Linked DNA regions of Homo sapiens: all the other regions are linked to region 1. Evidence: promoter capture Hi-C in 16 types of primary human blood cells and fetal thymus (Javierre and others, 2016). All regions are on one chromosome and are shown on one strand. Each heading gives the region's core, a stretch centred on a gene start or on the middle of the fragment in contact. The rest is flanking DNA. Distances are from core to core; before and after follow the strand shown.

Evidence for each region. Contacts are between HindIII fragments. The CHiCAGO score rates a contact against its expected background, and 5 or more counts as called.
Region 2: a contact is called between a fragment that was not itself captured here and the fragment with the promoter of RRP15 in region 1, in 1 of 17 cell types (non-activated CD4 T cells). The highest score is 5.0, in non-activated CD4 T cells.
Region 3: a contact is called between a fragment that was not itself captured here and the fragment with the promoter of RRP15 in region 1, in 1 of 17 cell types (total B cells). The highest score is 6.6, in total B cells.

Annotation. Positions count from the first base shown.
Region 1 is chr1:218,283,240-218,287,314 of GRCh38, forward strand. RRP15 (ribosomal RNA processing 15 homolog) reads left to right here and starts at 2,054. Exons shown (of 5, transcript NM_016052.4): 1 at 2,054-2,216. The coding sequence starts at 2,078. RefSeq lists enhancers at 1,432-1,501, 2,032-2,311. The HindIII fragment of the contact is 12,027 bases long and covers 1-4,075 here.
Region 2 is chr1:219,157,420-219,161,494 of GRCh38, forward strand. The region is part of intron 1 of LYPLAL1-DT (LYPLAL1 divergent transcript); the gene reads right to left. Among named protein-coding and RNA genes, the nearest start is that of LYPLAL1-DT, 14 kb to the right of the region's middle. The HindIII fragment of the contact is 2,168 bases long and covers 654-2,821 here.
Region 3 is chr1:219,088,227-219,092,301 of GRCh38, forward strand. The region is part of intron 3 of LYPLAL1-DT (LYPLAL1 divergent transcript); the gene reads right to left. Among named protein-coding and RNA genes, the nearest start is that of LYPLAL1-DT, 84 kb to the right of the region's middle. RefSeq lists an enhancer at 996-1,045. The HindIII fragment of the contact is 1,926 bases long and covers 1,408-3,333 here.

The DNA of each region.
Region 1 (4,075 bases), core at 804-3,303:
AAGGATCACACTGAGCAGGATGGTGAGAGCTGCTGGGCATCAGCAGCATCCTAAAGGGCACCTCTAAAGTGCACCCCTTTTTATTTTGTCAAGAGTAAGGGTCTCACTTTGTCACCCAGGCTGGAATGCAGTAGTGCAGTCATGGCTCACTGCAGCCTCGAACTCCTGGACTCAAGTGATCCTCCCATCTCAGCCTTGGAGAAGCCAGGATTACAGGCTGGAGCCACCATACCTGCCATCTTGGCTCACTGCAATCTTTGCCCCTCCCCGCCCCTCTGGGTTCAAGCAATTCTCACCTCAGCCTCCTGAGTAGCTGAGTAGCTGGGACTACAGGTGCTCACCACCATGGCTGGCGAATTTTTGTATTTTTAGTGGAGACGGGGTTTCACCATGTCGTCCAGCCTAGTCTCTTAACTCCTGGCCTCAAGAGATCCTCCCGCCTCCGCCTCCCAAGGTGCTGGAAATACAGGCATGAGTCACCACGCCTGGTCAATACCTGCACTTTTTAAAGGTTTAAACTGGAATCTCATCTCTTACCAACTGTATTCAAAATGTCATTTTTTTTCTGCACAATTTTTTGTTGTTGGTGGTGGTGGTGGTAGATTTTGTTTGTTTGTTTTTGAGACAGAGTCTCGCTCTGTCGCCGAGGCTGGAGTGCAGAGTCGCGATCTCCGCTCACTGCAACCTCCGCCTCCAAGGTTCAAGCGATTCTCCTGCTTCAGCCTCCCGAGTAACTGGGACTACAGGCACTCGTCACTGCGTTTGGCTAATTTGTGTATTTTTAGTAGAGATGGGGTTTCACCATGTTGGCCAGGCTGTTCTCAAACTCCTGGACTCAAGCGATCCACTTATCTCAGCCTCCCAAAGTGCTGGGATTACAGGTGTGAGCCACCGCACCCGGCTAGACCCTCTCTCTCTTAAAAGACAAAAAAATTAAAAACCAAGTTTAAAAATGTTGTATTGAGTTTTTAGGATGTGAATATATATTTATTTCCTACATAAACATCTACTGGAATATGTCAAAATGAGGATTCTTGTTTTTGTTTTTGACTTATGGGTATCACAATCTATGAACCTCCTTAAGAGGGGAAAGGGAAAACGCTAAGTTTGGGGAAAGCCTTTAGAACAAGTCTAGCCAGTAAAGGTTTGCTGCATTATCCATCTGAGTCATTAACTTTGTCAATAGTTATATTCTGTCACTCATTCATTGATTCATTCATCCCTTCCAAAAATATTTTTGGAAAATTCACTTCAGGCCAACTTCTGTTGCTAACCTTGAGGGGACATGGTAAATGAAATACGTTCCCCTCCTGCGAGAAGCCAACATTTTAGGGGGGAAAATGAAGGCCGACTGTGGTAGGTGCTTCGATGGAACTAGGAGCTGGTGACAGAGGCTAACTTCAGAGAAAAGCTAGCCCCGGGTGGGAGGCAGGATCCTCGCGCGGATAGCAAGGTATTCGCACCCTCGGTCTGCACTGCGCAGTCGGGCGCCAGAAACCCTCCAGGCCCCAGCCGGGTCCGAGGGAGAAGGGTGCGGTTGGATTCAACACCCGCCCCAGGGAAAGAAGGTGAGTCTATTCGGTTTGCAAGAAAGGTCTCGCGTGTTATCTTGGGCGGGGGGATGATACGATCGTATTCTAATTATCGGCCCCCAGTGGATCTGTCCCGCGTCCTAGCTGCTGCGGCGTTCAGTGGGCACGTAAGAGACACCTGAGGAGGACACTAAACCAACATTAAGGCAGCAGACAAGGGAAGCCGCCGAGGCTAGGAAATCAAAGTGGACCGCGCTGGGCTGGGGACGGGCTGGGGACGCACTGGGGCGGAGGACCAGGGCACAGGCGAGCTAGCGGAGGAGTCGGCTGAGGCCATTCAGCCGCTGATTTTCGTCCTGGAACGGACTTCGCGTAAACACACCGAGCCATTCAGAGCTCTCTCCAAGTCACATTCTGAGGCTCCGGCCCCGGAACTCTGGGCTAGACGACCCCGCCCCGGAACCTTGTGTTACCGGCACTAAATGCAGAAGTTCCTCTGGTTGCCACCGGACGCAACTGTCAGGTGACGCTTCCGGCGCAGAAAAATGGCAGCCGCCGCTCCGGACTCACGTGTGAGTGAGGAAGAAAACCTGAAAAAGACCCCAAAGAAGAAGATGAAAATGGTAACTGGAGCCGTAGCGTCGGTGCTGGAAGACGAGGCCACAGACACTTCTGATAGTGAAGGTAATGTGGTAGGGCTGAGCTTTGGTGTCTGGGAGGAAAGGCGGGGCTGAGTTCGTGTCAAGCAGCGCTTGCGACTTCATTTGCTGCTAGCCACCTGGGTTTTATCTTGGCACCACTTCAGAGGGGCGACTTTGGCTTAGTGAGGAGGCTTGGGGAAGTCGTGTTCAGAGAAGTAACGCTGTCAACTGTAATTTTGAGTTTCCACATTCTTTTACTAGGTATTTTCAGGGTCACCATTATTAATTATAATAAAATGGGTGAAACACCTGCAGCTACCGAGAAACTTACAGTAGCAAAGGGTGAAAGGAAGAGGGTACTTGAAAACAGGAGAAGAATGGGTCTCATAGGGTGTAAGAAGCAAAAGGTTAAAAGAGGTAAGAGGAAGAAGGGGGTGTACTTGACTTTTTGTGCGGTAGATGTGTGCGTGTTTTAGAGACTAAATAATAGTGAATGAAAGAAGAGTTTGGTGGTTAAGGTCGATTAAAAACTGGTAGTGTTTGATAACTATGTCTCTCAGAGACGCTTGATAATAAAAGGAAGGAAGGATGTGTTTTTGAGGCTTTCAACCATGCTGTGTCTGTTGCTCCTCTTTACCATCATTCTTGGCACCAGCTTATTAGGTTACAAGGAATTGCAGGTAATCCCTGACTTCCTACTGCCCAGTTATTGCTCCTTTGTACCAGCTGATACCCAAAAAACAGACAGAGCTATTCTTTTATAACGTATTTCTAATTATGCCCGCTGTCTGTTTGAGATGATCCAGTGGCTTCTCATCTCAGTATATAATATCCAAAATCCTTAGGCTGTATGATTTGGGCCAGGTTGTCTGTCATAGGCCAATATGCCCCTCACAAACCACTAACTGTAATCATGCCATACCGGTATGCTTGTGTTTAACACCTTAAACATGCTCCCACACCATGGTTTCTTCATTTGTTGGCTCCGCTGCCTAGAATAGTTTTCAAATGCTTGGCATGTCTCTCCCTCACCAGCCTCTGATCCAGTGCCTTACCAGAGAGACTTGTCCCTGACTACCCTATGTAACGTACCACCACTACTCTTCTTCCTGCCTTCTTTTCTTCACTTTTTGACTTATTGCCCTGCTTTATTTTTTCTCAACCCTGCCCAAACCATTTGATGTATGTATTTGCTGCTTTCCCAATTGGAATATAAGTTCCATAAAAATAGAGCCTACTGTATCCCCAGTTCCTATTGCCTTGTGGGTCCTTCACAGATATTTAAGTAAATGAATGAATTAACCTGGACTTCCAGGACCAAGAAGAAAGTGTCATATGCTACTGCAATTCCTAGGTAATTAGAGTCTTCATCTCCTGCCACATTGTTAAGGAAAACAAACTATTTGTTGGGCCAAAATTAGAACTTCTGGTTCTGATATTTTTTAAATTCATTAGACTAGTTCAAACACTATTGTTCAAGAAGGGAAGAGTACTATATTTGCTATATTTGGAGCAAAATGTCAGTACTGCTTACAAATTGGATTTTTCTTTTTCTTTTTGAGACAGGGTCTTGCTTTGCCACCCAGGCTAGAGTGCAGTGGCACAAACAGGGCTCACTGCAACCTTGACCTCCTCCCCCACCGCCCCCCAAAGCGATCCTCTTGCTTCAGCTTCCCCAGGTAGCTAGGACTACAGGCGCATACCACTGTACCTGGCTAATTTTTTTTTTCTTTTTTTTTTTTTTTTTTGGTAGAGATGGGATTTTGCCATGTTGCCCAGGCATGTCTCGAACTCCTAGGTTCAAGTGATCCACCCGTCTCGGCCTCCCAAAGTGCTGAGATTACAGGTGTGAGCCAGCACACCTGGCCAAATTGGATTTTTCTATTCAAATACTGGATAATT
Region 2 (4,075 bases), core at 488-2,987, 870 kb after region 1:
TAGATATCTTTCTCTTTTAAATTTCAGCACACAGCTACTGTTCCAGACAGATCACTGCTTCCTTTCTAGCTGGACCTCCCCTTTCTCTGGGCCTCATGAGCGCTATTCAAGCCTGTCCCCATTTCTTTGACTTTGGACACAGAATATCCTTGCTATTCCCCACCCTTAAAACCCTAACAGTCTAGGGCATTCTCACACTACCATACTCTGCATCATAATATCTTACCTCTGAAATAATTAACTTTCAATGTTTTAATATGTCATTTCTTGTCCTTTCATCTCTCTTATTCCTTCATTCCCACTAAATTGGCTCAGAGACCCCATTGAAGATCTACACACTTTATTGCCTCATCATTTTTCCTGTCTGTTTGCCCTTTCTGGCTTTAATTCTCTTACTATTTAAACCATACAGTACTACATCCTCGCCAGTCTCATTAATACCTCCACCCCACCTTGACTTCCTGCCTTGCTATTTCCAAAAACAGATCAATACGTTGTTTATTTCTTCTTTTTTTTTTCCCAGAAGCTATTGGTACAAATTTGATGACAATGTTGATTAGCTCCTTTAAATGTTCTGTTTGTATTTACAGTGAATTAGCAATTATTCCCTATTCTTACTCAGTTCTCTTTTCCTTTAAACCTCTATGTTTTTAAGCTTCTAATCTGTTTTCTATTTCTTTTATTCTCAGCAAATGGCCATTGCAGGGTGTAATCTATTCTCACATTCAGATTTACCTCTATTTCTTGACCCATTCTTCCCTTTCTAGTGTTAGAGGCAGCACAGCCCTGCTCTTCCAGGTTCTGGCTCCCTTCCCCTTTCATCTTTGAGTTCCTGCACATGATTGTTCTGTTTATTCTTCTCCTTTGCCTTCTTTTGTCAGTTTATAATAAGATAGCATCATCCACATATTTTAAAATACCTTTTTTTCCAGCCCTGTCTGTTCCTTGGCTTTACAAGTTAACTATTTAAAGGAATAGACTACACTCGCTGTGTACACTTTCTCATTCCAGATTCCCAACTCGAGTCACTGCAATCTGACCCTGAGTCCCACATTTCTACTGAACTTGCTCTCAGAAACTTTTCTGGTCACCTCTTCCTTACCTGCTAAATCCTATGGATTCATTTCATCCTTCTATAGCACCCCACAGTTGTTTACCTACATCTCAAAACAACTGTCTCCATTGCTTTCATGACATTCCACTATATTTCCTTCTACTTTCATGGTTCCTCCTGAGAGGTTTTCACTAATTTGTCTTCTTTGATCTAGCTTTTAAATGTGGGTTTAAAAAAATGATTTCTAAGTTATCTTTTCTTCTCCTACAAATTTTCTCCCCAAATGATTTTTCAATTCCTGTAGTTTTCTCTGATTCCTATATGCTAATGACTCTCAAAATTTATTTCTATCCCCAAACTGAGCTTTAGACCAAAATTCCCAGCTGTCACCAAATTCCCATTAACACCTCAAACCCACCGAAAGTTAAACTAATTATCTTCATTCTACACTTGCTTCTTCGTCTGTATTCTTTATACTTGTTAATATCTTCACCAGAACACTTTAAAATAGCCATTTTAGATTATTTCCTATACCTCATCCCCAAGTCAAATGGATAACAAAGTCCTATACCATTCAACCTTTCCAATCTGCCTTCTCTCCCATCCTTCTCAGTCTATTGAAGGGCTGGGTGTGGTGGCTCACGCTTATCATCCCAGCACTTTGGGAGGCTGAGGTGGGTGGATCACCCGAGGTCGGGAGTTTGAGATTAGCCTGGCCAACATGGTGAGACCCCCATCTCTAATAAAAATACAAAAGTTATCTGAGTGTGGTGGCACATGCCTGTAGTCCCAGCTACTCAGGAGGCTAAGGCAAGAGAATCGCTTGAACCTGGGGGGTGGAGGTTGCAGTGAGACATTGCACTCCAGCCTAGGCAAAAAAGCAAGACTCTGTCTCAAAAGAAAAAAAAAAAGAAAGAAAAAGAAAAAGATTACTAATGAGTGTCTTCTTATAGCCTCTCATTCACTCTTATTGTTATTTCTATGTGCCACAGCTAGCCTGTTACGTATATGAACATGTCACTCCTATGTTAAAAAAAAAAATAGAAAAAAGGCCTCTGATCTGAGTTTCTAAATCTTAGCCTGTCTTTTGTCTTCCTAAGTAAAAGTGTGGGCTACATATTAACGCTGGTCAAGAAGTCCAATGTATAACTTTTGCCCATGTGGATTTTATTTGAGTGATGGTACCTATTTTCTTCTATTGTTCAAACTACTGGGTGCTGTCTGTGAAACCACTTTATCCTCTTTCCAGATGCAGTTCTTTGTACTCAAAATGAGTCTTTCTCTGTAAATGGCTATATACCAGCCTCATTTTCCAGCTGCTGCTCTTTCCTTGTATCTCACAACCATGGCAAAAAGATAGAATTTGGGCATCAGTGAGTTCTCTTTAAGATGTCTCACTTATTTCTAAAGAATAATCCTTACACTTGGCATAAAAATTAGTGTTGCTACTTTTTAAAATGCCTGCTGAAATGTCCAATGTCCTAGTCTTCTATCTGGAATAAGATTATGATTACAGAGATTAAAAAAGCTCATTGAATTGAAGACAGCCCTGGAATTTCAAGATTATTTTAGAAGACATGCAATTGCTACTTTGCATTTTACATGTGCAAACAAAGCCATCAAGCCAATTAAGGCTGCTTTCAGTTCATTCTGATAGTACAGGAAGGTATTTATGTACTGTCAGTGCCAGCCTGGGCAGCGTGCAAGTCTTGACTCATAGATCTCCCCTCCCGCCCTGGCTGGAAAGATATCTGTGCATCTCTTTCAAGCTTGTTTAGGGTGTGTAAAGGCTCTTTCTTCGTCCACTCTACTTTCAATATAAAGTATTACTTAGAAGAAAGCTAAAAACCTGATTTTGTGTTGATAGTTAAGCCTTTCACACAACATAAATATAAGGAGTTTGATCAAGTTTACTTGTACTGTCTCACTCAAGATGTAGTTTTTAAAATGTTTTTAAAAATCTCCGCCTTGTTTGTCACATGTTAGAGTGTGTGTGAGAGCAGCAAAGAAGAAGCCAAGGATTAAGTTTGTCTTAAAACTTTTAGCTTGTAGTCAATCATTTCACTTTAATGTGCCACATCATGCTACAATAATTGTTTTAACCCATTTTCTGGTGACCATACCAAACCTTCAGTGAAATCAATTTAATTTTGTCATTTTGAAATTGCTCTCCAGAAAACAAGAGATATAAAGTTTTAAAGCAATTATACAAATAATTATGTCAAAATCCAACTGTTTAAGTGGAGTTTGAGCTTGTATTTTTCTCTAATGGCTCACATATTTGAATATATTTTTCTTGCAAGACACTCAGCTGTACATTTTGCAGGATATAAAAGTGCTTCGATTAAATGGGTCAATCAATTAATTAATAATTAATAACTTCCTACTTCACTCTTCTTCTAAATACAGAGCTGCTAATATTGCTTTAGGGGAGCCAAACACAATATACTGATAATTATTCCCATAGCTATTATTTCATATTATAGAGGTTTTGTAATACAACATCACAAAATTACAATGTCCTTTTTAAAAATCCCTTCCCCCACTCAAAAGAAAGCTATAAATTTAAGCCAATATAAACTTTTCAGAATTCTCTCTCTCAATGTCACACCAGGGCGTGGTGCTACACAGCTGGGGAGCTGAGCTAATAAGTGCTGAAAAATGAAAAATGCTGCTTTATGGCATCACATTAACTGGCAAAAAGAATACTTTTACCTCCGCCCATTTTTGACAAACAAATGCCAGAATGTAGATGCTGTAACAATGAGACTTTATGATAGTTGGCCCATGGGGCAAACAGATTTGTCTTGTGGGATTTTCTTTTTGTTGAATACTACATGTAATAAGAAGTGGCACAACATTTGTAAAATCTAATCACTTCTGGTTCCTTTTTGAACCTCAAAGGGGTTATTTCTAGAAAAGCTGTTGGAAACACTACATAATGATCTATTTATGCAGTAGTGAAACAGGATTATCCCTTTTACAAGGAGATAGCTTTCCCTAACAATGTAAATACTGTAA
Region 3 (4,075 bases), core at 1,121-3,620, 810 kb after region 1:
TTCCTCCACATAGGAATAGAATGGGATATTAAGCATATCACTAGGCTTTAAAGCAAATCTCAATAAATTTCAAAGACTTAGTGTCAAACATAATACATTCTCTGACCACAATTTCAATTCTGTTAAATTAGAGCTCAGTAAATAAAGGATAAATTTTAACCTCCCTAATATTTCTATAAAGTGTAAAAAATAAATTTGAATGTAACTGAGTCAAAAAGAAACTATAGGGGAAGACACAGAGCAGGTTGGCCTAATAGAACTCTCCAACAATAGTCCCCCTACAGGAACACTAAATCGAACAACTATCCACACAAGAAAGCACTTTTATGAGAACCAAAAATCAAGTGAGTGATCACAGTACCAGGTTCTAACATCATATCAAAGAAAGAGGCATTGAAGAGGTTAGGAAAGATAGTCTTGAATTGCTGATGCTGCGGAGAGGATCTGTGTTCTTGTGGGGGAGAGAGTGCAGTGATGTGGGACTTTGCATTGGAACTCAGTGCAGCCCAGCCACAGTAGAAAACAAGATAAGGCAGAACTCAGCCAGTGCCCATGGAGGGAGTCCTTATATCCGTCCCAGCAAGAGAGGAATTGCCCTTCCCAGTGGTTGGAACTAGAGTTCTGGCTAGCCCCACTACCATGGGCCAAAGCACTCTGGGATACTACATAAACCTCAAAGGCAGTCTAGGCGACAAGGACTGCAATTCCTGGGCAAGTCTTGGTGCGTGCTGGGCTAGAAGGCAGTAGACTTGGGTTGACCTAATGAGACACCAGCCAGGTGGACAAGGGAGTGCTTGCATCACCCCTCCCCCAACCCAGGCAGTGCAGCTCAGTAACCTGGGGGAGACTCCTTCCTTCCGCTGGCAGTAACTAGGCAGTGGTCACCATGGGTCTTGAGCAAGACCCAGTGCTGTGCTATCTTTGGGTGTGACTCAGCACAGTCTCAGTGTGGTAGTCACAGTGGAGCTTGCATCACCCCTCCACAAGAGGAGTACAAGCAAGTGCAGACTGCAAATATTACAATAAATATCTAACTATTCAATGCCCAGACACTCACAAACATCCAAAAGCATCAGGACCATTCAGGAAATCATGACCTCACTAAACAAACTGAAAAAGTCACCACTGATCAATCCAAGAGTGACAGAAAATTCAAAATAGAAATTTTGAGGAAGCTCAATGAAATTTAAGATAACACAGAGAAGGAATTCAGAATCCTATCAGATAAATTTAACGAAGATACTGAAATAATTTTTGAAACATGTAGAAATTCTGAGCTGAAAAATTGAATTGACATACAGAAGAATGCATCAGAGTCTCCCAACAGCAGAACTGATCAAGCAGAAGAAAGAATCAGGCTATTTGAAAATACACAGTCAAAAGAAACAAAAGAATAGAAAAGAATGAAGCTTGCCTATAAGTTCTAGAAAATATCTCAAAAGGGCAAATTAAGATTTACTGGCCTTAAAGAGGAGGTACAGAGATCAAGGTATAAATTTTATTCAAAGAGATAATAACAGATAACTTTTCAAACCTAGAGAAATATATCAAAATTCAAGTATAGATGGGTTGTAGAACATCAAGTAGATTTCATCCAAATAAAACTACCTCAAGACATTTAATAATCAAACTTCCAAAGGTCAAGGATAAAGAAAGGATTCTAAAAGCAGCAAGAGAAAAGACACAAATAACATACCTTACAATCTAGGAGAGAGTGGCATTACATATTTAAAGTGCTGAAGGAAAAAAGACTTTTATCCTAGAAGAGTACACCCAGTGAAAATACCCATTAAACATGAAGAAGAAATAGGCTTTCCCAGACAAACAAAAGCTGAGGGATTTCATCAACACCAGAACTGCCCTACAAGAAATGCTAAAGGGAGCTGTTCAATCTAAAATGAAAGGACACTAATGAGCAATAGGAAGTCATCTGAAGGTACAAAACTCACTGGTAATAGTAAGTACACAAACAAACACACAATATTATAACACTGTAATTGTGGTACGTGAACTATTGATATCTTGAATACGAAGACTAAAAGATAAACCTATCAAAAATAATAACTACAACTTTTAAGACATAGTATAATAAAACGTAGATGGAAGCAACAAAAAGTTAGAAAGCAGGGGGATTAAGTTAAAGTGTAGAGCTTTTATTAGTTTTCTCTTTCGTTGTTGTGAGTTTGGATTGTTTTGTATCCAGTGCTAAGTTGTGATCAGTTTAAAATAATGAGTTCTAAGATGTTATTTCCAAACCTCATGGTCACCTCAAATCATAAAACCTACAACAGATACACAAAAAACTGAAAATCAGTAAATTAAAACAACCCACCAAAAAAAATTAACTTCCCAAAAAGGAATACAGGGAAGAAGGAAGGAAGAAAGAGAAGAGCACACATAAAACACCCAGAAAACAAATAACAAAATGGCAGTAGTAAGTCCTTACTTACTAATAATAACATTGAATGTAAATGGACTAAACTCTCCAATCACAAGACATAGAGAGCCTGAACAATAACAATAATAAAAAAACAAGCTCTAACAATCTGGTAACTATAAGAAACACGCTTCACTTATAAAGACTAACTTAGACTTAAAATATAGGAACTGAAAAATATTGCATGAAAATGGAAACAAAAAAAGCAGAAGTAGCTATATTTACATCAGACAAAATAGATTTCAAAACAAAAACTATAAACAGAGACAAAGAAGGTCATTATATAATGATAAAGAAGTCAACTTAGCAAGAGGGTGTAACACTTGTAAATATATATACATTCAACACTGGAACACTCAAACATATTAAGTAAATATTATTAGAGCTAAAGAGAGAGATAGACCCTAATACAATATTAGCTGGAGACTTCAACACCCCACTTTCAGCATTGGACAGAACCACTACACAGAAAACCACCACCAACAACAACATTGGACTTAATCTACATTATATACCAAATGGACCTAATATATATTTACACAATCTTTCATTTAAGAGCTGCAGAATACACGTTCTTCTCCTCAAGGCATGGCTCATTCTTAAGGATAGATCACATGTTAGAACAAAAAACAAGTCTTAAAAAATTAAAAAATTGAAAAAATATCAAGTGTCTCATCTTTCCAGTTTTATTCTCAATGGAATAAAACTAGAAATAAATAATTAGAAAAATATCAGAAACTATACAAACACATGGAAAATAAACAATATGCTCTAGAGTGACCAGTGGGTCAATGAAGAAATTAAGAATAAAATTTAAAAATTCCTTGAAACAAACAAAAATGGAAACACAATATATCAAAACCTATGGAATGCAGCAAAAGCAATACTAAGAAGAAAGCTTATAGCAATAAGCACTCCACATCAAAAAAGCAGATAATCCTCAAATTAACAACCTAATGATGCATCTTAAAGAACTAGAAAACAAAGAGCAAACCAAAGCCAATATTAGTAGGAGAAAAGAAATAATAAAGATCAAAGCAGAAATAAATGAAATTGAAACAAAACAAACAATACAAAATATCAATTAAACAAAAAGGTGGCTTATTTTAAAAAAATAAAATTGATAAACATTTAGCCAAAGACATAAAGATAGAAGACCCAAATAAATAAAATGAGAGATAAAAAGGAGGTATTACAACTGATACTGCAGTTCAGAGAATCATTAGAGACTACTATGAGCAACTACATGCCAGTAAATTGGAAAACCTAGAAGAAATAGATTGAATCCTAGACACATACAACCTACCAAGACCGAATCATGAAGATTTCCAAAATCTAAATAGACCAATAACAAGTAATGAGTTCAACACCATATTAAAAAGTATCCCAGTAAAGAAAAATCAGAGACCCAAAGCCTTCAACTGCTAAATTTCACCCAAAATTTAAAGAACTAATATTAATCTAATCCTATTCAAACAATTCCAAAAAAATAAAGAAGCAAATACTTCCTTACTCATTCTGTGAGGCCAGTATTACCCTGATACCAAAATCAGACAGAGACATCAAAATAAGAAAACTACAGGCCAATGTTCCACATGAATACTGATGCAAAAATCCTCAACAAAATACTCACAAACC